Linked DNA regions of Homo sapiens: region 2 is linked to region 1. Evidence: promoter capture Hi-C in 16 types of primary human blood cells and fetal thymus (Javierre and others, 2016). All regions are on one chromosome and are shown on one strand. The core of a region is centred on a gene start or on the middle of the fragment in contact, and the rest is flanking DNA. Distances in the headings are between cores, read along the strand shown.

The links. The method cuts DNA at HindIII sites, captures the fragments that hold promoters and counts their contacts. A CHiCAGO score of 5 or more calls a contact.
Region 2: a contact is called between a fragment that was not itself captured here and the fragment with the promoter of KLHDC2 in region 1, in 1 of 17 cell types (megakaryocytes). The highest score is 5.4, in megakaryocytes.

The regions. Positions count from the first base shown.
Region 1 is chr14:49,766,834-49,769,993 of GRCh38, reverse strand. KLHDC2 (kelch domain containing 2) reads right to left here and starts at 1,841. Exons shown (of 13, transcript NM_014315.3): 1 at 1,373-1,841. The coding sequence starts at 1,525. RefSeq lists silencers at 1,612-1,791, 1,962-2,041, 2,382-2,441. The HindIII fragment of the contact is 13,494 bases long and covers 1-3,160 here.
Region 2 is chr14:49,651,360-49,654,752 of GRCh38, reverse strand. POLE2 (DNA polymerase epsilon 2, accessory subunit) reads left to right here. Exons shown (of 19, transcript NM_002692.4): 14 at 539-598; 15 at 686-763; 16 at 3,376-3,393. Among named protein-coding and RNA genes, the nearest start is that of DNAAF2, 18 kb to the right of the region's middle. The HindIII fragment of the contact is 226 bases long and covers 2,031-2,256 here.

The DNA.
Region 1 (3,160 bases), core at 592-3,091:
TTGCCCCCCCGCCCCCCTTCTTGCAATTCTCTACCCCTTTCTAAAGTATTTTTGAGACAGTTTCCTTCTTGTTGCCCAGGCTGGAGTGCAATGGCGCCGTCTCAGCTCACTGCAAACTCCGCCTCCCTGGTTCAAGTGATTCTCCTGCCTTAGCCTCTCAAGTAGACGGGATTAGGGCGCCCGTCACCACGCCAGGCTAATTTTTTTTTTTGTATTTTTAGTAGAGACGGAGTTTCACTATGTTGGCCAGGCTGGTCTCGAGCTCCTGACTTCAGCTGATCCACCTACCTTGGCCTCCCAAAGTGCTAGGATTACAGGCGTGAGCCACCGCGCCCGGCCCCCTTTCTATTTTCTAACCACATTCATTGGAAACTGGGGAAAACACTGCAGATTCATTAGGATTGGCAAAAAATTACTTTTGCAGTTAAACCAAAATAAAGTATCAGGACAGCCATCTTTGAAAGCTATCTCAAAAATGGTCAACTATGATCAAGTCAGCTGTACCATAAGCTAAAAACAATCACAAAGCAAGTCATCCAAGGCACGGGCGTGGGGAGGGCGGAGAACATTTTCAAGACCAAAGAGGAATTTTGTGGTAGGACTGGCTCAGAGCCATCCTAGCAAATAAAATTCTAGATTTCCGAGGTTAGCAGGGTAAAGAATGGCAACTGGCTTTAAACTGCTAACTAATCACGTTGTTTATAACCAGGGGATCGGAGAGTCAAAGAGCTGCACTCTGTAGTTCATTTGATGCTGGGGATTTTTTGGTTACTGGTGGAGCTTTTCCATTATCTTAATAGGGGTGTCTGCTGAAAAACTTCAACCCAGCTGAAGCCAGAAGGAAAACAGTCCTGATGGCCATTTGCACAGGCGGGAAGGCTGAATAAGGTGGTTCCTGTAACCTTTTGGAATTCCAGTTTTCCTACACCTCGGCCTCCCTGTAAGTGGGCAGCGGTTCCCAGCTCCAGAGGGTGAAGTCCTCGTAGGCCGTCCTCATAACGCGTCTGAGTGATATCACACACCGTCACCTTTCACACCCCAACCCTTCCGAATGCACCGCCCAAGCAACATTAACAGGGCCTTCCCCGGAATAACGCTCCAATGGCAACAACGGGGGTGGGAGTGAGTTGGCTTTGTGAGCACCAGGGTGACATGACAGCAGCCCTGGAGGTTCGAGACGGGTTGGGGTACTCGAGAGAAGGAAGATTCCCGCGCGCAAAAAAAAAACAACCAACGGGCAGAGTCTGAGGTGGGGCGCGCGACGCAGGCGGGGAGCGCCCTCGGCGGCCCGCTCTGGCCTCCCCGCCTGGCCGCGAACGCAGACCCGAGTCACAGCCGAGCGACGTCCGTCGCGGCCCGGCCACTCACTGACCTTGTAGCCGCCCCAGACGAACATGTGGCGCCCGTCGCTGACGGCTACGTGGCCGCTGCGCTCAGCGGGGCAGGCAAGCTCCATGGACTCATAGCTCTCGAAGGCTGGCCCAGGCAAGTCGTCAGCCCGCAGATCCTCGTTGCCATCAGCCATCTTGAGGCTGCACTTTTGCTAACCAACAATGCCCACACCCGCGAGGGGCCAAAAAAACAAAGGAAAAGGAGAGAAATGCACAGCGGCGCGAGGCAAGGAAAAGGCGGTGGCGAAAGGGACGGCGTTGAGGCCTCTCTGCCGCCTGCGCTCGCGTTTCCCAGCCTCCTCGGCCGAGGACGGCTCTCCGCCGCCGCCGGGGCACGCCTGCAGACAGAGGGGCCGCGAGCGGAGCCGGGCGGCGGCGGCGCGGGCCCGGGACTCGGGGCACTGCAGGGAAGCGGTCCGCGTCGGGCCGGCTCCCTATTGCAGCCCGTCTGCCCCGCCTCCTGCAGTCCACGGCCTTGTTTACGCCGCGGCCGGAAGCCGCCCGTTCCGCTGACGCCGCCCGCCGAGCTCCGGAAGCGAGGCTGCCGCTCAGCGCCCCCAGCGCCGGGTCCTCCAGCCGCCGCCGCCGCCGCCGCCGCCTCTGCCCGCGCCTCCGCCTACGGCCTGGGCACCGCAGATCTATGGGGCCCGGCGACTTCTAGTCGCGCTTCGAGTCTCCTTTCACTGAGGGAACCACAGGGATAATGTCCTGAATCGGTCCCTGAAAGCTGCTGAATTTTAGCCGGATTGCCGCAATTTTTTTTTTCTTCCCGAGGATTTCTATTCGTTTGATTGAGGGATGATCTCAGAGGGTTCACAGCCCGGGCAGGGGCACCAGAATTGCTCCACTAGCAAGTTTCTGGTCTCGCCTTAGAGTCGATGCAGGCCCTGCTGTTCTGCGGGCGCGAGGGCAGTCGCTTAGCTCTCACGTGGGGCCCAGCCCGATCCCCGGGGGCCTCTCCTGAGCTCCTGCCGCCCCTGCCGGGCGCCGCCTCTGCGGGAATCTGACGTTGCCGCCGCCGCCGCTGCCGCCGCCAGCCGGGCTGCAGAGTTGGCTTGAAAAGCGTTTCCGAAGCCGTAACCACCCTTTTCTTCAGAAAGAAAGGCGGATCCTTTTCACGCACACACAGCTTTCTCTTATATGATACCTTTCAATTGGGCCAAAAGAAAATTACGAGTTACTGTGCTTGATACCTCACCTGTAAAATAGGGTGGGACAAAAATAATCTTAAATTCTTGATCTTACAGTGCCTGTAGAATTTATCGTGTTTGGTAGGAGGGACGTGCTTCATTATCTCCATTTCCCTCATCTTCTGGTTGGGAGCACTCCATAGAAAAGGAACACTTTGAACAATAAAAGGCTTTTTTTTTTTAATTATTAAAATGCTTATAGCCTGCCACTCCTCCCCTAGTGTGCCAGTGTGTTTACTTGAACTCAAGAACTTGAAAGTTACTTAAGAGGATTAATTAAAGCCTTCAACAAGGAAGCAAATCACCTTGAGGCTGTTAAGACCTTATCTGCCATCCACCCTGGTTGGTGCCCTCAAATCTGTCTGGTTCACAGAATTCCTTGCAGCAGTGTCTTCTCCCAGTCGAATTATGCTCACTAGACTTTGGGGTTATCGAAGTTCCTTGTGAACCAACCTCGTGAATCTGATCGAGTCACTTAAAAACCTTGAGCTGGCTCCCGTCGTCCTTAGTAGAATCCAAAATTAATATCTCGGCTGGGCGCGGTGGCTCACGCCTGTAATCCCAACACTTTGGAAGGCC
Region 2 (3,393 bases), core at 894-3,393, 120 kb after region 1:
CCGTTTTACTTAAAAAAAAAACAAAAAATGAATTTTGTTATATCAGCAATTATTACAAAACTAAGGAAGAAAGATAAAGTTGAGAAAATTAAAAGAACTAAGAGATAAAGTTATCCTCACATTGTACTAGAGGTTTATAATGAAAAGTATTGAAAGGGATAGAGGTAATTTCAGCCATACTTGGAATTTCTTCGTGGCATTACTCTTAAGAGTCTAGAGCTTCACTCTCCGATATGATAGTCACTGGCCACATGTCTCTTTAAATCTAAGTTTAATTAAATTTAAATATAAAATTCAGTCCATCAGCTATGCTAGCCACAATTCAAGTGTTCAATTGGGCAGTGCAGATATAGAACTTTTCTATCATGACATTACTAGACAGTGTTGGTCTGGAGACTTAATAGTTCATTTATTATAATGCATGAAATTTAAATGTTTTTTAATTTTAAAGAGAAAACAAAGGGAATAACTTGCTTTTAAGCTATTGGATAGTGTTACAATAATATTTTTAAATGAATTGTGTTGAATTTTGCTACAGTAGTCGTTTTGTGTTTGTACCTGGTCCAGAGGATCCTGGATTTGGTTCCATCTTACCAAGGTAAGTTTTGTTCAGATTTTTGCAACAGTGTAGAAAATTTTGTAAAACTTAAAAAGATAAACTATATCACATAAATTGTTTTTATAGGCCACCACTTGCTGAAAGCATCACTAATGAATTCAGACAAAGGGTACCATTTTCAGTTTTTACTACTAATCCTTGCAGGTAAGAATTAGTATTTTGTGTTATACATTTTTCCTTTCATTTAAAAATTAGCCAGGTGTGGTGGCTCATGTCTGTAATCTCAGCACTTTGGGAGGCCGAGGCAGGCAGGTTGCTTGGAGTTCCGAGACCAGCTTTGGCAACACAGTGAAACCCATCTCTACAAAAAGTACAAAAATTAGCTGGGCTTGGTGGCACGCGCCTGTGGTTCTATGAAGAGGCTGAGATGGGAGGATCACTTGAGCCTGGTAGGTGGAGAGGTTGCTGTGAGCTGAGAATGCACTACTGCATTCCAGCCTGCAGCCTGGGCGACAGAGCAAGACCCTGTCTCAAAAAAACAAAAAACAAAAAAACAAAAAAAACAAAAAACAAAAAAACTAACTTGATTCCTAAAATGTGTCTCTGAATTTCGACTGTTATGGAATAAATATAAGAAGAAAATTTATTTTTGTTTTAGGTTTCTCAAAACTTTGAAAATAGTTTAACTATATTTAAATAATTTATTGGTAGTCAATTCAGACTCTTGAATAATGGATAGCAGTTTAAAAATAGATATTATTACTACATATCCTTTAAGAAAGGTTACAAAGGAAGAATACAAAGATTACTTATTTACTGTTCGTATTGCTCATTGTAATCATAAGTTCTTCCTGTGGGAATACCATCAGAGGCAGCCTTGGTTCGCCTCTTTTCTGCCTACATTCACTCCTTTGCTGGCCTTCTCCAGTGTCCTCTGGCTTTAAGTATCATCTGTGTATTGACACCTTCCACATTTATATTTCCACTTCAACCTACCTTCCAAACTCCAGACTCAGGTATCCAGTTGCCTACTTATCACCATCCCAACCTAAGTGAACTCCTGATCTTCCTCCCCACGAGTGTCCCTAACCTCTTCTGTAGACTTCTCCATGTTAGTTCATGACACCTTCATGGTCTGAACAATGATTATTCCAGTTGTTCAGGCCAAACACTTTGGGGTTTCTCTCACATGTTTTTTCAGGAAGTCCCATTAACTTCAAATTATATCCAGAATCTGCTCTCTCTCTATACCTCTACCTCCACAACCCTCTACCACAGTGGTCCCCAACCTTTTTGGCACCAGGGACTGATCTTATGGGAGACAGACGCCAGGGGGGGTGGGGGTGATTTTGGGATGATTCAAGCGTATTACACTTATTGTGCACTTTATTTCTATTATTATTACATTATAATATATAATAAAACAATTATACAACTTACCATAATATAGAATCAGTAGGAGCCCTAAGCTTGTTTTCCTGAAACCAGACGGTCCCATCTGGGGATGATGGGAGACAGTGACAGATCATCAGACATTAGATTCTTATAACGAGTGTGCAGCCTAGATCACTCACGTGTACAGTTCACAACAGGATTCGTGCTCCTGTGAGAATCTAATGCCCCTGCTGATCTGACAGGAGGCAGAGGTCAGGATGTAATACAACCGATGGGGAGTGGCTGTAAATACAGATGAAGCTTTGCTTGCTTGCAGCCTGCTGCTCACCTCCTGCTGTGTGGTCCAGTTCCTAACAGACCATGGACTGGTACCAGTCCATGGCCTGGAGGTTGAGGAGCCCTGCTCTGCCATCTTCTCGGCCTGGATTATTACAATAGCCTCCTAATTGGTCTCCAGCTTTTACTCCTTCCCCTCCGTATTCTATTCTTTTTTTTTTTTTTTTTTTTTTTTTTTTTTTTTTTTTTTTTTTTTTTTGAGACGGAGTCTCGCTCTGTTGCCCAGGCTGGAGTGCAGTGGCGCGATCTCGGCTCACTGCAAGCTCCGCCTCCCGGGTTCATGCCATTCTCCTCTCCGTATTCTATTCTTAACGCAGTGTGAAAGTGATCCTGTAAAGCATAAGGCATATCCCATCCACCTTCCCGATCCTGGAAAAAGGGACCCTCATTGGAAAAAGGGACCCCTCGTGATTTAGTGACAGCCGTATCCTTGCAGTGGTAATCAAGGCCCTGTGTTATCTGGCTCCGTTACCTCTCTGATTTCCTCTCCTCCCCATTTACTCCAGCCACACTAGCCTCCCTTCTGTTCCTCAAGGATGCCAGGCGAGCTCCAGTCTGAGGGCCTGGGCTCCATCTGTTCCCTTTGCCTGCAGTGCGCTTCCTCTGGGTATCTGCTTGACTAAGTCCCTCTTCCGCTTCAAGCCTGTGCTCAAGTCACACTAAATTATGAGCCCGGCCTGTTCTGATCATCCTATTAATATGCCCGCCTTCTAGGCTCTCTCTTACCACATATGCTGTCCCTCTTAGCCTGTCTTTTTCTTTTTCTCTTATGCTTAATTATCTTAAAACATACTATATGATTATGTTCGCTTTTTATTTTCTCAGCCCCACCCCCTACTAGAATGTAAACTGTATGAGGGCTGGGATCTTTTGGTTCTGTTCGCTAATCCCTAGAATGGGGTAGGCATATATTAAGAGCTCAATACATAGCTGTTAAATGAATAGATGAATAGACAGACTCTGGTTGAAGTTTTGTGTGGTGAACAGTGAATGTGGGAATGGGGTTGTATTGTAAGAGATTTTACCTTTAAAATTAATATCATTTTTTTCTGAGAAGTCAAATTCAACTACTGTTTTCATTTCAGAATTCAGTACTGTACACA